Regions from separate parts of the Homo sapiens genome. Here all the other regions are linked to region 3. Evidence: promoter capture Hi-C in 16 types of primary human blood cells and fetal thymus (Javierre and others, 2016). All regions are on one chromosome and are shown on one strand. The core of a region is centred on a gene start or on the middle of the fragment in contact, and the rest is flanking DNA. Distances in the headings are between cores, read along the strand shown.

Region 1 (3,649 bases), core at 223-2,722, 410 kb before region 3:
ATTAATGAATACCATGAATTGTTTATTTTATTATGAAATAATTCTTTTTAATATACTTATTAATCTATCAGTGATAATTATTAATTAACTTACCATATGGATTAATTAATGCATAATGATGAAGTAGGTTGAGAAGGGCTGTAGCAAAAGATGGAACAAAACCAGGGGGATAAGCAAGAAAAGAACTCTGCTATGTCATGGGGCTTCCAGAAAATCAGATGAAAACATTCTGCAACTGGAAAAGTACATGTTCTCTTCTGTAATATGTCCTCTGCATAAATGTTTTAAAACTTCAAGTCGCCTTACCTGATCTTTTGTTTTTTTTTTTTTTTGAGACAGAGTCTCACTCTGTCGCCCAGACTGGAGTGCAGTGGCACTATCTCAGCTCACTACAACCTCCACCTCCAAGGTTCAAGCGATTCTCCTGCCTCAGCCTCCCATAGTCAGCTGGGATTACAGGCATCTGCCACCACACTTGGCTAATTTTTGTATTTTTAGAAGATACAGGGTTTTGCCACGTTGGCTAGGCTGGTCTCAAACTCCTGACCTCAGGTGAGACACCCACCATGGCCTCCCAAAGTGCTGGGACTGCAGGCATGAGCCACCGCACCTGGCTGTCCTACCTGATTTTTAAGGAGTAAGTAATCATTTGTGTAGATTTTAGTTTTTTGTTTGTTTGTTTTTATTTTTTTTAAAAAGTATAACATTTGGCCAGGTGCGGTGGCTCATGCCTGTAATCCCAGCACTTTGGGAAGCCGAGGTGGGTGGATCACAAGGTCAAGAGACCAAGACCATCCTGGCCAATATGGTGAAACCCTGTCACTACTAAAAATACAAAAATTAGCTGGGCGTGGTGGTGCACACCTGTAGCCCCAGCTACTTGGGAGGCTGAGGCAGGAGAATCATTTGAACCCGAGAGGCGGAGGTTGCAGTGAGCCGAGATCATGCCATTGCACTCCAGCCTGGTGACAGAGCGAGACAGCGTCTAAAAAAAAATTATATATATATATATATATATATATACACACACACACACACACACACATAATATTTAATATGTCAACAAGATTTTTAGATTTTTTTCTTTCTTTTAACTTTTATTTTAGGTTCAGGGGTGCATATGCAGGTTTGTTATGTAGGTAACTTACGTGTCATGGGAGTTTGGTGTACAGATTATTCCACAGCCCAGGTCATAAGAATAGTACCTGACAGGTAGTTTTTCGATCCTCACCCTCCTCTCTCCCTCCACCCTCCAGAAGGCCCTGGTGTCTGCTGTTCTCTTCTTTGAGTCCTTGTGTACTCAATGTTTATCTCCCACTTATAAGGGAGAATATGTGGTGTCTGGTTTTGTTTCTGTGTTAGTTGGTTCACGTAGGATAATGGTCTCCAGCTTCATCCATGTTGCTGCAAAGGACATAATCTCTTTCTTTTTTATGGCTGTATAGTGCTCCATGGTGTGTATGTATCACATTTTAGATTTCTTATTTTAAAAAAATTCAATGCCCCCAAAATGTAATCACCTACAAACATTTCACCAGGTGAAAACTTTCTCATCCCACAAACTTTAGGCCATGGACAGTATGCTTTTCCAGAATCTAGGGAAAAGTTAAAGCCCTGGGCACAAGGTAAATTCACTTAGAATTTCAGGGTAGATACTGATTTTTATTAGGCTCTTGTGCCACTCACAGAAATGCCACATGCTCTTAGTCATCAGCCTCACACTAATACCTGTATACCACATCCTATTCAACAGAAAGGAATATCCACTTTAACACCCATCAGGAAAAAAAAAATGCTCTTTTTAAAATAAATCACTGACAATTTTCTCAAATAAAATGTCGGATCAAAAAATAAATGCAGGCCAGTCATGGCAGCTCATGCCTGTAATCCCAGCACTTTGGGAGGCCAAGACAGGTGAGTCACAAGGTCAGGAGTTCAAGACCAGCCTGGCCAACATGGTGAAACCCCGTCTCTACTAAAAACACAAAAATTAGCCAGGTGTGGTGGTAGGTGCCTGTAATCCCAGCTACTTGGGAGGCTGAGGCAAGAGAATCGCTTGAACCCGGGAGGTGGAGGTTGCAGTGAGCTGAGATCATGCCACTGCACTCCAGCCTGGGCAATAGAGCGAGACTCTGTCTAACCAAAAAAAAAAAAAAAGAAAGAAAGAAATGCATAAACAAATGTATCCCTACAATGGGATATTATTCAGCCATAAAAAGGAATGAAGGGCTGGGCGCAGTGGCTCACACCTGTAATCCCAGCACTTTGGGAGCCCGAGGTGGGAGGATCCTGAGGTCAAGAGATTGAGACTATCCTGGCCAACATGGTGAAACCCCACCTCTACTAAAAATACAAAATTTAGCTGGGCGTGGTGGCACGCACCTGTAGTCCCAGCTACTCAGGAGGCTGAGGCAGGAGAATCGCTTGAACCCAGGAGGCCGAGGTTGCAGTGAGCCGAGATAGCATCACTGCACTCCAGCTTGGTGACAGAGCAAGACTCCATCTCAAAAAACAAAAAACAAACAAGCAAAAAAAGGAATGAAGTTCTGACACAGGCTACGACATGGATGAACATTGATTGGAAACATGCTGCTAAGCGAAAGAAGCCAGACCCAAAAAAGAAACACTGAATGATTCTGCTCATACAAGGAACCTAGAATTGGCAACTTCATAGAGGCAGAAGGTTGAAGAGACGTTACCAGGGACTGAGGGGAGAGAGAGCTGCTGTTTACTGGATATGGAGCTTCTGTTTGGGATGATGAAAATAATGAAAACATTTTTGGAAATAGATGGTGGCAATGGTTGCACAGCATTGTGAATGTAATCAATGCCAGTGTACCGGCCTCCTAAAAGTGGTTCAAATGGCAAATTTTATGTCTATTTCATCACAATAAAAAGTACAAATATGAAAATAAATGACGACTTGGAACACCTTGAGCCATAGAGTTCCGCCTGGGGGTCTTTGGCTGAAAGGACAGACTAGACTGTGTTCCCACGGCTTTTCCATCCCAGAGCACTCACAAGCCCATCTCCTCCATCTCCACGGCCCCTCCCCCCCATTCTGCTGGCCTGACGGCTCTGCTTCCGATCTCAGCCCCACCAGGAAAAGCTTCCAGAATCACAGAAACACATTCTGGGAAATTAGTTTTCTTAAAGCCTTTGCTTTTGGTTTTAATAAAAAAAAATTAAATATCTTGAAAGCAAAACTGCCATCTAAAGCAGGCTAAAATATAACTGCAACTTTAGGAAAACTTAATTATACATGCTATCAATGTACTGGCCCATGATCAATCTATCTACATTTCCCTTTTCTCTCATTTCAGAAAGTAAGAATAAAGTGGCTTTGCTTAAATATAAAAACCTAATCTCTCTTCTCTTCTCTTCCACTTCCTTGTATTAGATTGTCTTCCAGAACTAACCAAGAGGTCCCTAAAGCTGGCTCCAGAGACAGGATCCTTTGAGAATGTCTCTACTCTTTAAAAACACCCACTCACACCTGTAATCCCAGCACTTTGGGAGGCCGAGGTGGGCAGATCATGAAATCAGGAGATCGAGACCATCCTGGCTAACATGGCGAAACCCTGTCTCTACTAAAAATACAAAAAAAAAATTAGCTGGGCTTGGTGGCGGGTGCTTGTAGTCCCATCTA
Region 2 (3,721 bases), core at 753-3,252, 320 kb before region 3:
ACCTGTAGACCCAACTACTAGAGGGAGGCTGAGGCGGGAGGATCACCTGAGCCCGGGAGGTTGGGGCTGCAGTGAGCTATGATCGCGTCACTTCACTCCAGCCTGGGTGACAGAGTAAGACCTTGTCTCAAAAAAAAAACAAAAAAAAAAAAAAACGAAAAAAAAAACTGTGAGAAACGATATGGCTAACAACTAGGTTTGTTCAATTGTAAAAAAAAAAAAATGTTTTAAGAGGTAATATAGGAGAAACATATATCCTTAAAAAATACTTAAAAGACATTCAAAAATCACATGTGGATTTTATATGGGTCTTAATTTAAGTAACAAACTACACGAATGTTATAACATGTATGAAACAACTGAAACTCTGACCACTGGCTGGATATTCACTGATATTGAGAAATTACTGTGAACTTTTTCAGGTACAGTAATGACATCATGGTATTTTTACAGAGCACTTATCTTTTAAATATATATACTGAACTATTATGGAAGAAATGCTATGAGGTTTGGAATTTGCTTCAAATTCCAAAAAATAGTTCAAAAAAAAGCTGAACTATAAAAAATTGTTTTGGGGCCGAGTGCCGTGGCTCACGCCTGTATTCCCAGCACTTTGGGAGACTGAGGTGGGCGAATCACTTAAGGTCAGGAGTTCAAGACCAGCCTGTCCAACATGGTGAAACCCCATCTCTACTAAAAATACAAAAATTAGCTGGGCATGGTGGCACGTGTTTGTAGTCTCAGCTACTCGGGAGGTTGAGGCAGGAGAATCGCTTGAACCCAGGAGGCGGAGGTTGCAATGAGCCAAGATCGCGCCATTGCACTCCAGCCTGTGCCAATAGAGCAAAACTCCATCTCAGTTTAAAAAAAATTAAATAAATAAATTACTTCTGTAAGTCAAAAATGGTTGAAGGGCTGCAATTTCATGTTAGAAGTCAGGAAATGGGAGGGGCTATTGATGAAGCAAAACTGGCCAGGAGCTGATTAAGGTTAAAATTAATCTGAATGATGGCCTATGGGGTAAATTTTACTCAACTGTCTCCTTCCTATGTGCATAAAATCTTTCCACAATGAAAAGTTAAAACAAAATTAGGCCTTTAATACAGTACAATATTTAAATTTAGTTAAAAATAAAAACTAGTAAAAGTGAAACTGAAAGCATCACTGCAAAAACACCCTCCGCCTAAATTTCTTCATCTGCAAAGGGAGGCCAGGGAGCTCGACAATCTCTCTGAGATCCCTGGGTCTGTGACCGCAGTGTATGCTCTCTGCTCAGCCACTGAAGCTCGTCCCCAGTTTTGCAGGGCATATTCGGCTCTTCTCTTACTATTTAACAAGGGCCACCTAATCTATGCATAAAGATCCTCAGACTGTAGGGGAGTTCAGACGACACAGCCTAGTGAGAAGCTGACACACACATGCACATCCCATGGAAAACCCTTGTGGGGTGTGAGAGATGATTCTACAGTGGACAGAAGGCAGCCATTGAGAGCTGTTCTGATAGAGTGCTGACATTGACCACTCTGTCCCCCACCAAAGGGCCTGTGACGGAATGTCTGTAACATAGAGTTCATACATTGTATAGAGGTCTATAACATTTAATACATATTAAAGTATACTTAATAGCCTGAAAATATACTTAATAGTATGAGAATAAGCTGTTGTGGAGTTTAGCTGGCACAAAATGACCACTGGCAACGGCTGTGGTGGCCAGATGGAGGCCTCAGCCTGCCGAGCACAGTGAGAATCTGTGACTTCATTCATAAATTTCCCAGAGAAACGGGATGAGGCAGGGCCCTGTGTACCTCCATGTCTGCAAGTGGATACATGCTGAAGAGCAAACATGTAAAGCACAGAAGACACAAGCAAAGGAAGAAAGAGGACACACTGAGGTCCTGTGACTCATCTTTACAAGGCAGAATATGAGTCATTAATAGGATCCCAACTTTGGCTTTCTCTCTGAATCACCCAAGATTACCTTGATGTGCTTAACTTTGTCTTCTTTTTCTGTCTTTGGTTTCTTTCCTGTGGCAACAAAAATGTAGTTTTGGATTAATTCACGAAGGGCCTCCAGAGAAACATTTCCCTCAAATTAAATTCTTTCTGAAACTCTCAATGAACCTGTTGCTTTAATCTGTACATGGTCAAAATTCCACATGTATCTTTCACTGCCTCTGGTGAATCGAAAGTCTTGTTTCCAAGCCAGGTAGGGGCGGAATGATCCCCTACAGCATGAACAGGCTATTCTACCTGCAAACTGACTGCAGATGTAGAAATGAAGAGATCACGAAGGCACGATGACACAAATTGATTTACCTTATTTTAGTCTGTAAATGCCTTTACCTTTCTTAGAAGGCCGTTCTGATAGGGGCAGCATTCGGTAGACCCTGAAGGCATTATTTCCTTTCTTTATGCTTTTATCCTTGACTTCTTCAATATCAGGCAAGGAATTCATGGCGCATCTGAAATTCGCCTTCCATGTTTTGGGATCAGGTTTATCTACTCCTGGTTGATGCTTTCCTAACAAAAGAGACAAAGATTAAGAAAAAGAGAGAAAACATTAGATACAGAGGAAGGAATTTCTGGAAACACAGTATTGCTGGTCAGGCAGTATAAGGAAACCTTTTCACTCCATGCTATACCTCCAGTGACCAATCGTCCTGGTGTACCTGGGGGTGAGAAAGTTCTTGGGATGTGGGAATTTTGTTTTTAAAACCTGAACAGTTCCAGTCAAACTGGGACAAGTTGGTCACCCTGGTTCTACTGAACAGCTTGAGGAAACTATAAATGCTGGAAGAATGGAGCATCAGCGTAAGAAAAATATAGAAGACTGAGAGGCTGCAAAGTCAACAGGCAGAGGGAAGCTGAGTGCCTCTTTTTCATCTGACGCTCCAACAAAGTCCATTCCTGTAAACAGCTCCCTACGTAAAGGTTGTAATAAATACAGGTATTTCTGACTACCTTTTTGGGGGGGAGATAAATTTGACCAAAGTTTATAGCATCAGAACAACTGAGTTTCTATTCCCCGGTAACACCTAGGGAACTTCTTAGAATACCACATTTATAGGAAATTGAAGGACTAAGAGTGTATGGGATGAGGGGAGCATTACTTCTGAGGGCTGCAGTTTGTACCCCATGTGTCCTGGATGTGCCTAGGGACAAGTCACAGGTTTTTCAGAGCCATCTTCATGAGGTCATAAGCCAGGCTATTTTATGTGTAATAAAAACAAAACTAAGCAAGAGTGCCTTCCTCTATAAACGCCGCAGGGAGTTTTAGTACCTGTATGGATTGCCCAGTTTCTAAAGAGTGGTGCATCTTTTTCCACATCCCACCCATGTCTAGCCGCATGCATCCAGGGGATCTGAAAAATCTTCTTTTCCTGAAAAAAAAAAAAAAAAAAAAGGTAAAGAACTGGAGTCATGGGTTTTGGCCCACCATTGCAAAAGGTTGTGAAGGTCTAGCCAGCAAGATTCCCCAGCAAGCATCGCTGAATGTGTTGACTGCTGACAAGAAAATCTACTGTAAACCAAACCCACTTCCCCCGCTGGATCCCAAATCTTGATAGACTACCCCGAGTGACAGTCAGTCTCGTGAAGTCTTGCAGAGCAGGAATGTTTTCCAAGGTCAAAGGTGATGATTTGACCTTGTGTGTTCCATTATTTGTGCCTCTTTTCTAGTTTTCAATATATTTTTTTGGAGACAGAGTCTCGCTCTGTTGCC
Region 3 (3,668 bases), core at 1,169-3,668:
GGGATACTCCAGGAGAATACAGTACATAATTAGACTTTAAAATATGCCATGCAGATTGCAGCCATATTTTTCTCATTTGTAGACAGCAAAATCAGCTTAGTCTAAACCAATGTTTTAGTATCCTTTTATCTGATATAATTTCAAGCTCACAGAAAAGTTGCAAACATAGCACAAGGACCTTCTGTATGCCCTTTACTCATGTGCTCTGTGTGTGTGTGTGTGTGTGTGTGTGTCTGGAGATACTGTGCACTTCCACCCCTAAATACTACAATATGTCTTTCCTAAGAGGGCATTATACTGCATATTCATGGTACAATTTCTAAAATCAAGAAATTTAACACTGATACCATAATCTAATCTACAGTCCATACCCAAATCACATCAATTGTCCTATAATGTCTTTTAAGATTGCCAGGCCAGCATTTTTAAAAAAACAAACAATAAAAAAGGAAAATATAAAATGAAGCATTGCACTGGATATACTATGTTCACAAGCCTTTTGTTTTATGTGTGGATGTGTGCACACGTGTACTAAGTGTGATGTAAAACATCATTACTGTGAATCACAGTTAAAAAAAAAAAGTTAGAAAACTGTTCAGAGCGGTGGTTCCCAGACTTGAGTGTCATCAAAATTCTCAAGAGGGCTTGTTGAACAGGTTGCTTGGCACCACCCCAGGAGTGTCTGATTCAGTCCCTCTGGGGTGAGGTCTGGGATTCTGCATTTCTAACAAGTTCACGATTTATTTATTTAATTCATGAAACCTAAGGAAGCAGGTAAGACAAGTATTGGTTTTATGGCAATTTTATAGATGATGATTCCGGGATTCAGAAAATTTAAGTGACTTATCAAGGGTCACATAGCCAGGTAACAGAAACCCAGCTACACACTAGACCACATAAACTTCTTAACCTAAACTCTTTGAGCTGTCTTGTCCTTTCTTGGGGGGGAAAAAAAGTCAAGGTTCCTCCTTGCCTTACGCTGGAGTCAAGGTGGGGCTTCTGAGAGACAGAAACCTCTGTGACAACCCACAGGTAAAATTTCTGGGCCAGGCGCGGTGGCTCATGCCTGTAATCTCAGCGCTTTGGGAACCCCAGGAGGGCGGATCACGAGGTGAGGAAATCAAGACCATCCTGGCCAACATGGTGAAACCCCGTCTTTACTAAAAATACAAAAATTAGCTGGACGTGGGGGCGAGCGCCTGTAATCCCAGCTCCTCTGGAGTCTGAGGCAGGAAAATCGCTTGAACCTGGGAGGCGGAGATTGCGCCACTGCACTCCAGCCTGGGCCACAGAGTGAGACTCCGTCTCAAAAAAAAAAAAAAAAAAAAATTCTGTTGTATGTGCGTAAGTGTGTTTTGGGAGGAGGCATGAACAGATTTCATGAGTCTCAAACCCAAAAATGTTAAAAGATAAAAATAAAAAAAGACAACAAAAACCACTAGCCTTTCAGATAAACTCTTTTCAGCTGACATTGAAGGCTGACATTCTCTTCTAATCCTTTTTTGCACTGGGGGAGTCTTCATTCTCCTCCACTGGCCACAGAAGTCTGGTCTCGGTTTCCCCACCCACCTGCGGTGTCCTGCTCCAGCTTTTCCACCCTAACCCCGCATCTACCAGCACCTCCTCCTCCAGGCAGCCTTCCCAGGCCCGGGGGAACTCCTGTTCTCTTCAGATCGTCTTGGCGTATGGCTTTGTGCACCGTCTGCAGCAAGCCGAGACCCTTCCCGCCAGATCCAGGCCGGGCCTTGGATGGCCATTCGCCAACGAATCAGCGACCAGCATTCTAGAGCGCGTTTTGCAACCGACCAAACGCTCGCTTTCTTTGGTAAACAAAAACCGCTCGAGCCATCCTGGAGAACCGCAAGCGGCAGCTCGGTCCCCCAGCCGGATTTATGCTCCAGTTTACGGTCTGTGGTTTGCAGTAAGAAAACACCAGGGTCTTCAAAATAAGAAAACTGATTCCCAGTCAGAGAATAAAACTCCACTAACAAAGTCTGGCAAACCGCAGGCAATACGTATTTGCTGAATATTTTGCTTTCAAGCTAGCACTTTGAGACTCACTACTTTGGACGGCACTCCCCCTCCCCACAAAACGACACGACACTGGCTGACGTCTCTCCCACCCGCCAGGCAGTGTTAGGCCCCGACAGGCCCGTGCAGGTGGGATCACTGTTATCCCCACTAGACTGAGGAGGAAGCCGGGGACCCGGGCGATTGGCCACTCGGGCGACCTCCACAGTGGAGCACCAACAGCGCCGGGAGGCGCAAACCACGGCAGGCGAGGAAGCAGTTCAAGCTGGTCTCCGGCCCCGCGCTCCCGAGGGTCGGCAGTACTTACCCCTCAGACCTGTGAGGCCGCGGCCGCCGCCGCCCCCGCGGGGCCATGGTGCCGCTCTCCGCTCTCGAGCGACTGGAAGCTCCCGCCAAGCCCCTCGCCGCTCCGAACAGCCAATCCGGGCCGAGCACGCGCGCGTGCGCAGGACTTCCTGAGCGGCCCCCGGGCTCCTCCCTGGCCTGGAGCGTGAGGGAAAACTGGGTCTGGTTATTACAGCGCAACGGAGCTGGAGTCCATGCCGCACAACCAGTTACCTACGGTCCAAAACATGCCAAAGTTTTCCGGGCTTTCGCGCCCACCCGCATCGCCAGTTTTCCGGCGCCAGAAAGCCCGGGAGCCACGTGGGACGGCCCCTTGTGGGGTGGGGAAAGGGGAGGAGCTAGTGTCCCTGAGTCGTGGGCAGGTAAGAGGGTGGGTGGAGACCCGTGTTCGCAGCTGTTGTCGCTGAGGCCGCAGTCGTCTTTCCAGGCCTACAGGATTTGGCTTCCAGCCCCTGCTGCCTTTATCAGCTGTCTGAGCTTAGCATGTTACTTTACCGCTATCCCAATACCTTCATTTGTAAATGGACAGGGTTCCTTTTGTTCTTTTATTTTGTTTGTGTTTAAAAATGTGTAATGCAGAAGAATGTAATTGAACCCTTACCTTACACCGCGTATAAAAATTAACGCAAAATGAATCAAAGACCTAACTATAAAGGCTAAAATTAAAACTCTTAGAAGAAAACAGAGCAAAAACTTCATAACATTGGACTTGGTATGATTTCTTGGATATGATACCAAAAGCAGTTTGGGATGATGAAAACGTTCTGGAAATAGTGGTGGATGGATGCACAAGGTGAAGGTACTTAATGCCACAATACTGTAAAGTTAAAAACGGTTAAAATGCTAAATTTTGTTATGTATATTTTACTACGACAAAAATATTACGTTTCATGCATATGAAAGAATATAACGTGTAATGTAAAGATAAAAACAAACATCCGTGTAACCAGCACTACATGGGGATATGGATCATTTTTATATATAACTCTTGGGTACCCCTCTGAATGGTATCCTCCTCCTCCAAAGAATAACCACTCTTCTGATTTTATGTGTATCATTCCTGTGGTTTTCTACCTTGATATAGCCCCAAATAATGTATTGATTATTGTATGTTTCTAAACTTTATATGATATTTGGTAGGTATGCTGCAAGTGCCCTTTCTTACTAAAGCTATTGCTTTTATTTTTTATTTATTTTATTTTTCCATAAATTATTGGGGTGCAGGTGCTATTTGGTTACATGAGTAAGTTCTTTTTTTTTTTTTTTTTTTTTTTTTGAGTTGGAGTTTTGCT
Region 4 (3,900 bases), core at 195-2,694, 460 kb before region 3:
GGAAATGGAGGCTCAGAGGAAAGGGTTTATCTTCCCCCTGGGCTCGGCAGAACCAACAGCCAGCCCCAACTCCACCCCAAAGCCTGGATGTGGCCGTGGCTCCAGAGTGGGCCGCCCCTTTCACCATCTGTGCATACTGGGTCGGAGCTGAAATCTGTGATCACCCTTCTGAGCCCTACCCCAAGGACACTGAATCATGTGGTCAGGCTCCCAGCTCAGCACAGCCCTGACTATCAGCTCCATGTGTTTAGCAGCCTGGCCCCAGAATCAAAGCCACTGTTGAGGACACTCAGTATGAAGGAGACCACTTCAGGCCAGTGACAGATTCTCTCCTGGACCAAACTCGACTGAGGCTCCCCTGAGCCCTCTTCTCAACTAGGCCTCAACCCTGGCCTAGAAAGACTTGGACAAACACTAGCATGGCTTCTCATAGCTCAAGGCCGCATCCCTAGGTGACCCCAGCCACCTTGGGTGTCCTTGGGAGGCAATCCCAAGGACACACAAGGCTGCCAAACAAGTTTGCCATTTGCTCCAGCCAACACCCAGAGATCGGGCCCCTGTGCCCCAGTCTGTGAGGGAGGCTGTTAACAAACCCAGGTGGGTTTCTCATGGACCAAGCCCGCTCTGCTGTTTGTAGTTTTCCACTTCTCTGACCCCACTGAGCCCTGGTCACCCCTGCCCAATTCTCTCACTCTCCCTTTAAAACGCCCAGTCTCTACTGCACAAATCAAACTGGAGTTCAGTCTGGGCTGGGCCTTCTCCCTATTGCAATAGATATTACAATCCTTCTTTACCACTTAACTAGCATCTGGCTTGGTTTATTTTTGAGACCAACAGCTGGGGCAGGTGGAGCTGCCCCTCGGTGACAGTCCCTCTTAATACTCCACTGCCTACCCCACCCTCGCTGCTGTTCTGCTGCCTACACCTTAACACTGGCCCTCAGAACCACTCGACTCGCCCCCAGTTACCCGCAGCCTCCTGACTTCTGCCTCTTCCACAGCCCTTCCTGGATGTCCACTTCTCATTTCCAGGAGGAAAATAGGAGTTGCCTGAGTTGGGCTGAGGCATGAAATAGAAAAGTATTTGGGCCTGTTAAGTGTTCCGGATTGCTGAAATAGCCCATCCAAGCCCCACTCTTTCCTGAGTTTATTAAAGGAAGTGGGGAAAGCTCTGTGCTTTTCAGTCTAAGAGCTGGGTGCTGCAGAGAAAGGAGATGTTACTGGGAACACCGACCACCACGTCAAAGGTGCTACTGGGTCCCAGAAGCTTGGGGCAGCTTCTGCAGGGGTCAGTGCCTACCAGTGGAGAAGAGGACTCCAGTCGGGAAGGAAACAGAGCGGCTGGGTTCTTGGTCATCCTTGCAGGGGAGGAATTCTTCTTCACTTAGGTCTTAGCTGCCCAGTCTTCAAAACCACTTCAGGTATCTGCAGTGTACAGGGAGCCAGCTGGGAATTTCCATGGGAGTTGGGGGATTTCCAGATAGCATTTCCTCTTGAGCTGTGCATGACACTTGATAGGCCTAATGCTTTAAAAGTTTTCAGGAAAAGAGTCAGGTGTTCAGTTTTGTTAGGCATTATTTTACTTTGTGATGAATGTGTGGATGGCACACCCCAGCAACTGAGCCAAGCTTTTCCCTGTGGATTTGGGCAAGTACCTGTGAGTGTCAAGACTAAAGGGTGTTGATATAGTTTGTGTGTCTCTGTGTCCCCATCCAAATCTCACCTTGAATCGTAATAATCCCCACGTGTCAAGGGTGAGACAAGGTGAAGATAATTGAATCATGGGGGCAGTTTCCCCCATGCCGATCTCATGACCGTGAGTTCTCATGAGATCTGATGCTTTTACAAAGGGCTTCCCTCTTCGCTGTATACTCATTCTCTCTCCTGCTGCCCTGTGAAGAGGTGCCTTCTGCCATGATTGTAAGTTTCCTGTGGCCTCCCCAGCCATATGGAACTGTGAGTCAATTAAACCTCTTTTCATTATCAATTACCCAGTATCAGGTATTTCTTCACAGCAGTGTGAGAACAGACTTATACAGTAAATTGGTACCAAGAGTGGGGTGCTGCTATACTGGTACGGAAAAATGTGGAAGCAACTTTAGAACTCGGTAAGAGGCAGAGGTTGAAATAGCTTAGAGGGCTCAGAAGAAGACAGGAAGATGCGGGAAAGTTTGGAACTTCCTAGAGACTTGTAGAATGGCTTTGACCAAAATGCTGATAGTGATATGGACAGTGAAGTATAGGCTGAGGTGGTCTCAGATGGAGATGAGGAACTTGTTGGGAACTGGAATAAAGGTCGTGCTATGCTTTAGCAAAGAGACTGGTGGCATTTTGTCTCTGCCCTAGAGATCTGTGGAACTTTGAACTTGAGAGAGATGATTTAGGATATCTGGCAAAAGAAATTTCTAAGTGACAAAGTGTTCAAGAAAAACAGAGCATAAAAGTTTGGAAAATTTTCAGCCTGATGACGTGATAGAAAAGAAAAACCCATTTCCTGGGAAGAAATTCAAGCAGGCTGCAGAAATTTGCACAAGTAATGAGGAGCTGAATGTTAATCACCAAGACGATGGGGAAAATGTCTCCAGGACATGTCAGAGAACTTCACAGCAGCCCCTCCCATCACAAGCCTGGAGGCCTAGGAGGGGAAAATGGTTACCTGGGCCTGGCCCAGGGACCTGTTGCTCTGTGCAGCCTTGGGACTTGGTGTCCTGCATCCCAGCCATTCCAGTTTCAGCTGTGGCTAAAAGGGGTCGAGATCCAGCTTAGGCCATTGCTTCAAGCCTTGGCAGCTTCCATATGGTGTTGGACCTGCAGGTGCATAGAAGTCAAGAATTGAGGTTTGGGAACCTCCAACTAGATTTCCGAGGATGTATGGAAATGCCTGGATGTCCAGGGAGAAGTCTGCTTCAGGGGTGGAGCCCTCATGGAGAACCTCTGCTGGGGCAGTGTGAAAGGAAAATGTGGGGTTGGAGCCCCCACACACAGTCCCCAGTGGGACGCTGCCTACTGGGCCACCATACTTCAGGCCCCAGAATGGTAGATCCACCGACAGCTTGCACTGTGCTCCTGGAAAAGCTGCAGACTCTCAATGCCAGCCTGTGAAAGCAGGCAGGAGGGGGCTGTACCCTGCAAAGCCACAGGGTCAAAGCTGCCAAGACCATGGGAGCCCACCTCTTGCATCAGTGTGCCCTAGATGTGAGACATGGAGTCAAAGGAGATCATTTCAGAGCATTAAGATTGAATAACTGCCTTGCAGGATTTTGGACTTGCATGGAGCCTGTAGCCCCTTTGTTTGGGCCAATTTGGAAGGGGACCATTTACCCAATGCCTGTACTCCCATTGTATCTTAGAAGTAACTAACCTGCCTCTGATTTTACAGGCTCATAGGCAGAAGAGAGTTGCCTTTTCTCAGGTGAGACTTTGGACTTGGACTTTTGAGTTAATACTGGAATGAGTTAAGACTTTGAGGGACTGTTGGGAGAGCATGATTGTGTTGTGAAATGTGAGGGCATGAGATTTGGGAGGGGCCAGGGGCAGAATGATGTGGTTTGGCTCTGTGTCCCCACCCAAATATCACCTTGAATTGTAATAATACCCATGTGTCAAGGGCAGCACCAGGTGGAGATAATTGAATCATGAGGGCATTTTCCCCCATGCTGTTCTCACCATGAGTGAGTTCTCACAAGATCTGATGGTTTTATAAGAGGCTTCCCCCTTCACTCCAAACTCATTCTCTCTCTTGCTGCCTGTGAAGAGTGCCTTCCACCATGGTTATAAGTTTCCTGAGGCCTCCCCACCCATGTGAAACTGTGAGTCAATTAAACCTCTTTTATTTATAAATTACCCAGTCTCAGGTATTTCTTCATAGCAGCATGAGAATGGACTAACACAGGTGTTGATC
Region 5 (3,681 bases), core at 1,131-3,630, 440 kb before region 3:
GATCAAACTTTTGATTTTTGCCACTTTGATTAAAAATGGAACCTTGTGTTTTATTTGCATTTCCTTGATTTCTAGTGAGGTTAAGCATCTTTTCAAGTATATTGGTCATACATCCTTTTTTCCTTTTTTTTTTTTTTTTGAGACAGAGTCTCGCGCTGTCGCCCAGACTGGAGTACAGTGGCACGATCTGAGCTCACTGCAACCTCCACCTTCCAGGTTCAAGCGATTCTCTTGCCTCAGCCTCCTGAGTAGCTGGGATTACAGGTGTGCACCACCACACCCGGATAATTTTTGTATTTTTACTAGAGACGGGGTTTTGCCATGTTAGCCAGACTGATCTCAAACTCCTGACCTCAGGTGATCTGCCAGCCTCGGCCTCCCAAAGTGCTGGGATTACAGGCATGAGCCACTGGGCCCAGCCGGGTCATACATTCTTAATCACCTCAGATTACATGCCTGAAAGTTGGGTTGCTGGGTCAAAGGACATGCAATATATACACAGTAGTCTCCCCTCACCTGCTGTAGGTACATTCCAAGCTCCCCAGTGGATGCTGAAACCACGCATTTCAGAACCTTCTGGAAACTGTCTTTTCCTATTGCATACATACTTATGATCAAGTTTAACGTATAAATTAGGCGCAGTAGAAGATTAACAACAATAACTAATAAAATAGAACAATTGTAGCAATATACTCTGATAAAAGTTGTGTGAGTAGGGTTTTTCTCTCTCTCTCTGTCAAAATATCTTACTGTATGTAATATTTTTGGACCATAGTTGAACACAGTTATAATATTTTGGACAGCATGGTTTCAGGTAACTGAAAAGCAAAGCGGCGAAGAAGGGAGAACTACTGTATGTTTTTTACTGTGTGTGTGTGTGTGTGTGTGTGTGCACGCACGCCTACCTAGCCCTACCTATCTCATCTATCTAATCTATTGCTTTTAAGGTGGTATTTTTTCCAAGGTGTCTTTCTATAATAATTAAGCCAATTTATACTCTCACTACAGCATATATAAATGTTTTCTTATACTGTCTACAGAAGGGTTTTACTTTTGTTTTTTGTAGGGCAGATAAATAAATATAGTATCTTATTGATTTTACATTTCTTTCATTGAGAATAAGACTGGCTACTTTCATATCGTTTTTGACAGTTCATTTCTTTTCTTTTGATTAACAGCTTATTTTTTATTTCTACTAATTCTGTGTGTGGTTGTTCACCTTTATTTTTGTTCTTACCAATCTAAAAACTCTCACACAGGTTAAGAATGTCAGCCTACATCTGAGTGTCAATAAGGTGCAGATAGTCAAGGAATAATGCCTCACAGTGTAGTGACATGCTGCCACAGAAGAGGCCCCCAGGAAAATGCAGTTTGGGAGCCCCTTAAGCAAATATAACTTCATGGGAAGATTGTCCTTCTTTGGTCTCTGATATGGTTTGGATCTGTGTCTCCACCCAGATTCATTTGAATTGTAATTCCCAACGTAGGAGATGGGGCCTGGTGGGAGATGATTGGATCATGGGGGCAGTTTCTCATGCTTTTCATGGGGGCAGTTTCTCATGCTTTACTACCATCCCCCTTGGAGCTATCGTCCTGATAGTGAGTTCTCACATGATCTGGTTATTTAAAAGTCTGTGGCACCTCTCTGCTCTCTTGGTCCTGCTCCTGCCATGGAAGACACCTGCTCCCGCTTTGCTGTCCACCATGATTGTGTGTTTCCTAAGGCCTCCCCCAGAAGCAGAAGCTGCTATGCTTCCTGTACAGCCTGCAGAACCATGAGCCAATTAAACCTGTCTTAAAATACATTCCTCAGTCTCAGGCATTTCTTTCTTTATAGCAGTGCAAGAATGGACTAACACACTCTCCATATTGACACCTCGCTTGTAAAGCTGGCCGATGCAGCATTGCAATCAAGTGGTAGATTTTGAATGTCTGAGTGTGATTAGACTCTAGTTGTTTGTTGTTAAATGATTGGTCTGAGTGTGATTAGACTCTAGCTGTTTGTTGTTAAATGATTGGTGAATGATGCCATCACAGGCCAGAATGTCCAGCCAGCCTCCATAGCAGGACCATCCCCGCTTATAGGAAATGGAAAGGCTCAGAGACTCCAGAGTGGCCCAGCACTGCCCCTGCCGTCCACCAGCTGGAATCAGGGCAGTGCACCTCCCAGTCTGTGTGTGTGTATGTGTGAGTGTGTGTGTGTATGTCTGTGTGTGTGTATGTGTGTGTGTATGTGTGAGTGTGTGTACATATGTGTGAGTGTGTGTATGTGTGTGTATGTGTGTGCGTGAGTATGTGTGAGTGTGTGTGTATGTGTGAGTGTGTGTATGTATGTGTGAGTGTGTGTGTGTGTGAGAGAGTATGTGCGAGTGTGTGTGGAGGGGCGGGGGTCTTGCAGTTGGTCATAGCTGCCCTTTACTTTCTCACAGTGTGTGTATGTGTGTGTGTGAGTGTGTGTGTGTATGTGTGAGTGTGTATGTGTGTGTGGAGGGGAGGGGATCTTGCATTTGGTCATAGCTGCCCTTTACTTTCTCACAGTGTGTGTGTGTGTGTATGTGTGTGTGAATGTGTGTGTGTATGTGTGTATGTGTGAGTGTGTATGTGTGAGTGTGTGTGTGTGTGAGTGTGTGTGTGTGTGTGTGGAGGGGAGGGATCTTGCAGTTAGTCATAGCTGCCCTTCACTTTCTCAGTGTTTTTGTGTGTGTGTGTGAGTGTGTGTGTGAGTGTGAGTGTGTGAGAGTGTGTGAGAGTGTGTGTGTGGAGGGGAGGGGAGGGGTCTTGCAGTTGGTCATAGCTGCCCTTCACTTTCTCTTTTGGTCAAGAGTTCTCCCTTTCTCCTCGTTAGAGAAAGATTGCCTTTGTTTTGCCAGTTTCCTGAAAGTCTGTATTTTCCGGGTATAAGCTCACTCATTGAGAAGAAGAGAGCCTATCCTTTCACCTCTAGAACAAGAAAGCCAGTGGGTAGTAAAATACACATAATGAAAATGATGTGTGCCCTAAACTTCAGGTGAACCAGCGAGAGTGTTTTACAGCACACACTCCAACCTAGAATCATTCACACGGGTCCAAATCCCAGCTTCACTCTCATCGCTAGACATAGGGCTCAATGTTCCAAATTTTAGCTCTTCTCATCTCTAAAATGGCAATTATATTAGTACCTATGTTTAAGGCAGTTGTGAGGATTAACTGAATTTTGGTCCACCTATGGATGCTGGCACAGCAGGCATTTTATGCGTAAAGTCTCTAATCATTATTTCTCCATCTCAGAATAGAGGAAGATCTCTGTGGGTGGAGGACCCTTACCAAAGTAGTTGGAGGGGACATCTTAGGTCATACGACTCTCTTCTCAAAGACTCTTGTTATATAGGAGTCCTATTTGGTTAAAAGGACTTCTCTTGTTTGTCCTGGATGTGACATCAGGTTTAAAAAAAATCTCACTCCCGTTCAGGAGCCTGGCAACCATGCATTACCCAACAATGGTTACCGTGGCTGCAAGGAGGAAGCAGACAGCAAGCCCACAGAAGTGTTTATTGAAGAAAGGGAAGTCAATAGTCCCTGGAGTTAATGAGTGATTGTTATTTATGGAAGGAATGGTATTTGCAGATGGGAATGACTGCAAAATGCATAGAAGGACACAGCCATGCCCTTTCCACGGAAGTCACAGAGCACACCTCAACACAC
Region 6 (3,690 bases), core at 1,022-3,521, 350 kb before region 3:
CAAGGGAGTGACCCAGGTACTGGCTGCAGAGAATGGAAACTATTGTTCCAAAGGCAGTTACACTGAACTTGAACTTGCTATTAAACGCATACGTGCACACACACACCCAAGCCCATCATCAAAGCCTATCAGCTCACACAAATACCAACCAGAAGCATGCGTCCCTGGCACTTCCTCTAAGTGACGACAAGGTCTGAGGCTTGGGTCCAGGAGCTGCCCCAATGCCTTTGTTTTCCTTCCCCATGTCAACCCCAGGCATCCTGAGACTAGCTTGTTTTCCTGCGTTGCTGGCAAGTATCACTTAGAAACAATACAGGCTTTCTCAGAAGGATTTTAAACATGATTCTGTTTTTCATGGCCTTATTGGCAATGGAGTATCATCTCTGGAACTTAAATGGTGCATTTCCAAGTCCTGAATTTTCTTCCACTTGATGGGCCTTGGGAAGTCTAGTTACGCTACAGAAGCAAGGGGAGGGCAGCAGGAATGGCATTCGGGACCGAGATGCAGGAAGAAGCCCTGAGTCTGTGTTGGGAAGAAGGAAGGGGGAGGAGACCTGAGCTACCTTAAACCCTTTGATAACCAGGCCACGTGACTCAGGGCAACCTTCCGTTGCTGTTTTGTTAATTTATTTAAAATAGGATGACTCAGTAAAACATTTTAGATGTAAGTCTCAAAGAACTGAACTTCTCCATTCAGGACCTGGGGGAAGAGCAGGTCTTAACTGAAAAGTCGGGTGCCAAGGAGCCAGGGAGCATCTGTTTCTTCCTGATAACTCCCCTTCCACTGAGAAACTGAGACAGTCAACGAAAGTGCTCCTTCCAGAAGCAGCCCCGCCTCTGTGTGTGGCATTTCAACTACAACGCATCCGCCAGGAAAATGCTCCAGTTGATTTCCATTCAGGGCTGGATAACTTTATGACCGCTAATTATATCTGCAGCCACACATGGAGATAGGCATAAAAATAGCCTTTTGTCCTTTCATTAAAGGAACCTCTTCAAATATTAACTTAGCAATCTCCTCCACAACCCCCCAGAGGTAGTAGGCGGGTAGCAAAGTTTTCATATTCTGATTTTACAGAGTAAGATACTGGGGATGCAGGGGAGGCTGGTGCTGTGGCTTTCTCCAGGCCAAGACTATACCTTCAAACACCAAGTGGCTGATAAAGACTGGTGTTCTTGAAGTCACCCCTTTTATTCCACAAGACAGACCCCAAGTTTTGAGGGCACGGTCTATGTGTAAGGCCTCGGGTCCTAGAAAGACGAGTGACGGACATGGTGTTAGAGCCCAATACATATTTCCTGTTGTGGAAAATGTCTTATCCATGCACCCCTCTAAGTGACATAAACACAAGACGTTTGTCGTACGTGTAAGCCTAAGGATGAAAACAGGAAAGACACAGAGTGGGGTGAACCTTGCTCACAGCAGAGAAGGAAACCAGTGGCGTGGCTAAAATACTCCCCCTCCACAGGGAATGCTCCCAACACAGAGGAAGACAGACATTTGAGATAACGGATATGCTTACAAGAAAAAAGACCCCCTTCATAGCACAGAGAATTGGGCTCAACTTGTGCCCAACTTGTGCCCTTGCCTCTTAGTGCCACTATGAGCCAAGTAAAGGCATCTTCACATTCAGTCTTCATTTCCTCCACATGAAATGGAGATGAATGCCTATTCTACAGCACAAGTGTGATGAATGAAGACGGGAAGTCATGCAAAACGCTCAGCACGGGCCCCTGCTCAGGCGAGCACTCAAGAGAAGAAGTCAACTGAAGCCTCACAGTAAGAACCTCCACGGTTTCTTGTGGTCAACAAGGGAAAACATTTTGGTCCCCAAAAAGAAACAATCCTTTGTCAGTCCTATTCCGTGATTATGCTCTTTTAAAGCAGACACAGACAAAGCCAGGAGTGATGCCCCTTAAAAATTTAACTATATATCATATTCATTTATTATCAATCCACAGGAAAATCTGATTGCTACATGAGCTCATAAAAGCTTTTTTCACCTTTACAAAATTAAAAAAAAAAATGTGCCACAAGGATGTAATAACAACTGCTGATAAACAAGAAAAGGAATCTTAAAATTATAAATTTGCTGTAGAAAAGATAAAAAACAATTATATTTTATTTAGAATTTTACCTTGAATAAAATATTCCCCTGTATAAAAAATAAAAAAGCTTGCTCTGGTTAGAATTAGAGTATTTTTGTCTTCAAATCTGGGAATTTGCATAATATTTCCATGATACTTTTTCCTTTGTACCGCGTGGCATTCAAGCATAGCAGATTAGAAGGATTTTTTTTAAAGCAGTCTGAAAATGGGACATCTGTAGAGAAATTCATTTCCTTCTTCTCCTCCGGATGTGGAATGGAAGCTTTGAGGGAAGGAAAAGTAGGAAAAGAGCGGGATGGGATGGGATGGGATGGGATGGGATGGGATGGGATAGGAAGAGAGGCTGGGGAATGGGCAGAGAAGGGGGTGCTGAGTGTGCTGTGAGATAGAGCAAGATCACAAGAAGGCCTATCTGTAAGTGCTTTAAGATAAGGTGCAGAAGCAGACTGCAATGTCGCTAGTGCTGCCTATGTACATATTCACAAGAATAAAAAATTCCAGCTAGTTCACATTATCTCGTCCGTTCTGAGGCATCCACTCCACCTTGCTGGCCTTGACCGCAGGCAATGCAGCACCTCCACTGCCCTTGTTGGTCCTTGAACTTGAGTGAGTAGCCCTGGGAGATCCAGCAGGCTCTAGAAACACACGTCTACCAATGGGCTGGAGTCCTGAGTTAAAGAGAAGCTCCAGTACTGGAGTTGGACACAGCAATCAATGTTCTATTGTCAAGGCTTTTTCCCTTAGATTTGTCTAAAATAGGTGTCAGAGAGAAAAAAATAAAATACAAACAAACAACAAAACAAAGCCAAGAAGCCCCAACAACCACCGCGGAGAGTCAGAGGCTTAACAGCTCTTGACGCGGGCCTGGGTGATATCCGATGTTTTCTTGATGACGCTGGCCCGGGTCTCCCGGTCTGGCCGACTGCTGCTGGATGCTGGGGTCATGGAGGAAGAAAGGGGGAGGTCTTGAAAAGGGGGCCAGGAGCTGTTGTAAGGCACCGGATTGCTCTCCTCTTTGATGGTGACCTGGAGGTCCGGTTTGTTGGAAGTGACGAAGGACGCCATGCCGGGCAGCAGGTAGGAGCCTCGAGTCCCCATGTTGCTGAGGTACTGTTTGCCTTCAATATTCCTCTTCCGCCAGTGTGGCCGCCCCTTTCAAGAAAGTAATTAAGATATGTATTTCCTTCTCCTTCTATTGGATGGCTTTTTAAAAATGCATCACTGGCCAGGTGTGGTGGCTCATGCCTGTAATCCCAGCACTTTGGGAGGCTGAGGCTGGAGGATCACTTAACCTCAGGAGTTTGAGACCAGCCTGGGCAATGTAGCGAGTCCTCATCTCTACAAAACGTAAGAATTAGCTAGGCATGGTGGTGCACACCTTTAGCCCCAGCAACTCGGGAGGCTGAGGCGGGAGGATCACTGGAGCGCAGTAAGTCAAGGCCTCAGTCAGCTATGATTGCGCCACTGCACTCCAGCCAGGGCAACAGAATGAGACCTTGTCTCAAAACAACAACCCACAAAAAAAATTTTAAAATGAAAAATGTGTCGTTCCCATGTGTTGGTGCTTTAGCTGAGTTTCTT
Region 7 (3,641 bases), core at 335-2,834, 480 kb before region 3:
AGACTTGGGGGCTGCAGAGGCACAGGTTCCCCCGAATCAGACACCATATGTCTACTTCAGAGCAAAGTGTATTCAGTCAGTTATTTACTTGGACTCCTAAAGCAAGATGGTAGTAGAAGTTCTTTCTGACCCTCCTAGAGCACAGGACCCTTCTAGAATCAGGTTCCTCTGGTCTTGGGCCTGGTGTCTCATTCCTTTTATTTGGGTCAAGACATGTGCTTCTGTTGAGCATTTGACACAGACCACTAAGAGCGAGCCCTGATATGAAATGGGGGCCTATTCTGCCTAGAGCAGGGGCAGAGCCTGTCTGATTTCCCTCTCCTGAAACTGGGGACTCTAGGAGGACTCATTAGGAATGTTTTTGTTGTTACGTAAGTGAAGGAAAGCTGACTTGAATTAGCTCAGGCAAAGGTTGAGAGTAAATGGTAGTGATACCCCACCAAAAAAGTCCTGTGGAATCCCCTGCTACAGCCTCAGGGGCTGGACAACAAGCACACATGCAAAGTCGTCTTGCCTGGCACACAAAGGTGTTATAAATCATTCTGGAAATACATCACCCTTAAGAAACCCTTCAAAAGCACAGGGGTAGTAATTTGGAGTCTTTGGGGCTTAAAGAAATACAGTGTCACACTTTTCAGGCTCAAAGCCTCCCATTCATTGGAGACTCAATGAAGAAAAACAGAGAGCCTGGCATGGTGGGTGCCTGTAGACCCAGCTACTCAGGAGGCTGGGGCAGGAGGCCCTCTTGAGCCCAGGAGTTTGAGCCCAGCCTGGGCAACATAGTGAGACTTGAGAAAAAGGAGGAAGGAAGGAAGGCAGGCAGTGGGGAGGGAGGGAGGGAAGGAAGGAAGGAAGGAAGGAAGGAAGGAAGGAAGGCAGGCAGGCAGGCAGGCAGGCAGTGGGGAGGGAGGGAGGGAAGGAAGGAAGGAGGGAAAATGATCAGAGAATAGGGGTTTGACTGCTAACTTGAACATCTGAGTGAGTAAGCTATTCGATCTCTAAATTTCCATGTCCAAATTTTGGCTATGGAAGGAGGGAAGGAGGGAAGGAGTGGGAGTGGGGAGGGGAGTTGTGATGTTGCCTTGTGATGGGAGTGGAGATCTCAATGTGCCTGAAGAGAGGGTCAGGATGCAGTCAGGCCTCAGTGACCTCTGTCCTGGCAGGACTCTTCTGCCATCTGGAGTCTAGTTCACTCTGTCATTGGCTTCAGACACTCTGTCATTGGCTCTTCTAGATAGCCAACATATCTCCATCAGCTCCTGAACCTCCAGCTCCCAATCAGGGGCACTGACTCCGTCCCTTCATTCCAACTCAGAAAAGTGCAGGGAGGGGTTCTCATTGGCCTGTCTTGGACAAGGAGGCCCTCTGGACTGACCACCATGGCAGCGCTGAAGTGGTCTGGTTGGCCTGACTTGGGTATTATGCGTACAGCTGGATCATGTAGCTAGGGCAAGGGGCAGGTTTGAGGACCCAGAGCTGCTTCTGGAGGCCCACCCCTAAGTATCAGGCCCTCTAGGAAAAGAGCAGAGTGACCACTGGTCACCCCTCACTGTCACCACCACCCCACAAGTCTGGACTGGGCACGGGAAGGGGTGGAGAAACCCTCAGCTTTAGAGTGGGTGAAAGGAGTCGAAACCATCAGAGCCCCAGGGGAGACTCAAAGTAGCGGCAGGAGCAGTAATGATAGCAAAAACAGTGCCATTCATTGAGCACGTATCTTGTGCCAAGCACATAGAAAGCACTTTACACGTGCTATTTCTAATCCTTGCAGCAGCCTTGCATGGTAGGTGCTATTGGTCCCGTTTTGCAGTAAGAAAATTAAGACCCACAAACTTTATGAGATGCTTCTATAGCCTCAGAGCTCATAAATGCCAGAAATGGTGCTTCCATGAAGGGCCTGGGAAAGGGATGAAGCAGGATGAAGACAGTTGCTCAGGAGGTCACTTAATGCTCCTGCGACTCCCTGTGGCAAAGGGACTCAGCGAGAAAGAGCCTTTTTGGAGGGATTGTGCAGGGTCTCTGGTGGGGGAGGGAGCTGTAAGAAAAAGGCAGCCCAGAGGGAGACTGTGTGCTGGACTGGACCTGGAAAGTTTGGTGAGGACCACAGGTTCTTGGATTGCCTGGGACTGTCCTGATTTCACCCGGTATTTTGACATATGTGATAATGGCACCCCTTTCATTCACAAAAGCAGTGGTGTGCTGGTGAATGTATAAAATAGGGTTTCAAATACATATATACACACACATATGCATAATAAAATAATACATATTGCATATACATATACAATATGCAGTATATATTATTGTCTTATGCATATATGCATATACATGTAGTATGTATATACCATATATATACATACAATGTGTGTGAATATATGTCTATGTATACATATATGCAATATGTATTGTATTATGTATATATGCATACACATATAGTATGTATATACTATATATACACTATATCTATACATACAGTATGTGTGTGTGAATATATGTGAATATATGTGTATGTATATGCAATGAACTGAATGTTTCTGTCCCCCAAAATTCACATGTTGAAATCCTGACCCCCAAAGTTAGGAGATGAGGCCTTGGGGAGGTGATTAGGTCAATGAAGGTGGGCTTTCAGGAATGAGATTAATGCCCTTATAAAGGAGATCCCAGAGACTCCCTTGCCCCTTCTGCCATGTGAGGACACAGAGAAAAGACACCATGTATGCACCAGGAAACAGGCCCTCATGAGACAGAGAATCTGCTAGTGCCCTGATCCTGGGCTTGCTTCCCAGCCTCTCGAACCGTGAGAAACACGTTTCTGTTGTTTCTAGCCCATGCAGTTTATGGTATTTTGTAATAGCAGTCTAAAGGGACTATGACAATATATACACACATACATACACATATTTGAGATCAAGGCTGTGTAATACATGATTTACAATCAATAATAAAATATATGCTTTTCTTTAATGTAAATTTCACATAGCCATCGATTCTCATAGAATACAATTCTGTGAAAATTTTTGGTTGATTTTTGCTAAAACCTTGTATTCTTAGTCAACTTGTGGTTGTAATTCAACCATGATTTGTCAAATGGAGATGCATTCCAATCTGCTAATTCTTTTCCCAATAAGTTTATTGTTGCTAAATCTGATATGTGCGCTAACGTTAAACAATTTCTCATCCTCATGAAAATCATTTTCATTAAACAGAAACCTCTTTCAGCTGCAGCGCTACTCACTACAATCATGCTGCCTTCATAGAGTTGCAGGAATCACAGCATCGTCTCAGTGTGCATTATTTAATAATGGATGCGCTTCATACCTGGCTGCAGAAAATTGAGTGATCAGCTCATTGTGCATTGCCATGAGCAGCCAGGACAACCACACTGCTGTAAGAGGGTCCTATTTCTGCCAATAAACCATTGGCTCACCCTACTTTTAGAAGCTCGAATCTACTCCCTGTAACTGCAGTGTTGGTGACTGTGACACTGTATTCTTAAGGCACCAGTCAAGGGGAGAGTGGGGGGAAGAAAAGGCTATGGGGTGGGAGCCTGGCATCCTGTCTGTGACCTGGGCTCTGTGTAACCTGTGCTTGCAGACTTGTAAACCGCTCCTCACGGGTCAACAGACGGGGCCACTGAAGGA

What was found. The method cuts DNA at HindIII sites, captures the fragments that hold promoters and counts their contacts. A CHiCAGO score of 5 or more calls a contact.
Region 1: a contact is called between a fragment that was not itself captured here and the fragment with the promoter of CENPU in region 3, in 1 of 17 cell types (neutrophils). The highest score is 5.2, in neutrophils.
Region 2: a fragment that was not itself captured here is called in contact with the fragment with the promoter of CENPU in region 3 in 1 of 17 cell types (naive CD8 T cells); the score reaches 5.0 in naive CD8 T cells.
Region 4: a contact is called between a fragment that was not itself captured here and the fragment with the promoter of CENPU in region 3, in 3 of 17 cell types (total CD8 T cells, total CD4 T cells and erythroblasts). The highest score is 5.4, in total CD8 T cells.
Region 5: a contact is called between a fragment that was not itself captured here and the fragment with the promoter of CENPU in region 3, in 1 of 17 cell types (activated CD4 T cells). The highest score is 5.2, in activated CD4 T cells.
Region 6: a fragment that was not itself captured here is called in contact with the fragment with the promoter of CENPU in region 3 in 2 of 17 cell types (total CD8 T cells and activated CD4 T cells); the score reaches 6.1 in total CD8 T cells.
Region 7: a contact is called between a fragment that was not itself captured here and the fragment with the promoter of CENPU in region 3, in 7 of 17 cell types (non-activated CD4 T cells, activated CD4 T cells, total CD4 T cells and 4 more). The highest score is 8.0, in non-activated CD4 T cells.

The regions. Positions count from the first base shown.
Region 1 is chr4:184,321,102-184,324,750 of GRCh38, forward strand. No RefSeq gene overlaps it. Among named protein-coding and RNA genes, the nearest start is that of MYL12BP2, 8.6 kb to the left of the region's middle. The HindIII fragment of the contact is 3,269 bases long and covers 1-3,107 here.
Region 2 is chr4:184,416,189-184,419,909 of GRCh38, forward strand. IRF2 (interferon regulatory factor 2) reads right to left here. Exons shown (of 9, transcript NM_002199.4): 3 at 3,281-3,380; 4 at 2,344-2,520; 5 at 1,979-2,025. Among named protein-coding and RNA genes, the nearest start is that of LINC02362, 36 kb to the left of the region's middle. RefSeq lists enhancers at 1,295-1,464, 1,655-1,954, 1,833-3,032. The HindIII fragment of the contact is 6,751 bases long and covers 1-3,721 here.
Region 3 is chr4:184,731,678-184,735,345 of GRCh38, forward strand. It overlaps CENPU (centromere protein U), which reads right to left and starts at 2,419. Exons shown (of 13, transcript NM_024629.4): 1 at 2,339-2,419. The coding sequence starts at 2,385. RefSeq lists enhancers at 1,859-2,725, 1,876-1,995 and a silencer at 2,366-2,425. The HindIII fragment of the contact is 4,927 bases long and covers 1-3,668 here.
Region 4 is chr4:184,274,522-184,278,421 of GRCh38, forward strand. It overlaps LOC105377582 (a long non-coding RNA gene), which reads right to left. Exons shown (of 6, transcript XR_939552.3): 2 at 3,844-3,900; 3 at 2,656-2,807; 4 at 1,300-1,525. Among named protein-coding and RNA genes, the nearest start is that of MYL12BP2, 38 kb to the right of the region's middle. RefSeq lists an enhancer at 679-1,878. The HindIII fragment of the contact is 361 bases long and covers 1,265-1,625 here.
Region 5 is chr4:184,290,246-184,293,926 of GRCh38, forward strand. LOC105377582 (a long non-coding RNA gene) reads right to left here and starts at 3,367. Exons shown (of 6, transcript XR_939552.3): 1 at 3,304-3,367. It overlaps LOC124900825 (a long non-coding RNA gene), which reads left to right. Exons shown (of 2, transcript XR_007058413.1): 2 at 3,449-3,681. The HindIII fragment of the contact is 9,454 bases long and covers 1-3,681 here.
Region 6 is chr4:184,385,806-184,389,495 of GRCh38, forward strand. It overlaps IRF2 (interferon regulatory factor 2), which reads right to left. Exons shown (of 9, transcript NM_002199.4): 9 at 1,924-3,261. The coding sequence ends at 2,953. Among named protein-coding and RNA genes, the nearest start is that of LINC02362, 5.3 kb to the left of the region's middle. RefSeq lists enhancers at 568-1,326, 3,332-3,690. The HindIII fragment of the contact is 195 bases long and covers 2,175-2,369 here.
Region 7 is chr4:184,256,510-184,260,150 of GRCh38, forward strand. No RefSeq gene overlaps it. Among named protein-coding and RNA genes, the nearest start is that of ENPP6, 40 kb to the left of the region's middle. The HindIII fragment of the contact is 5,367 bases long and covers 1-3,641 here.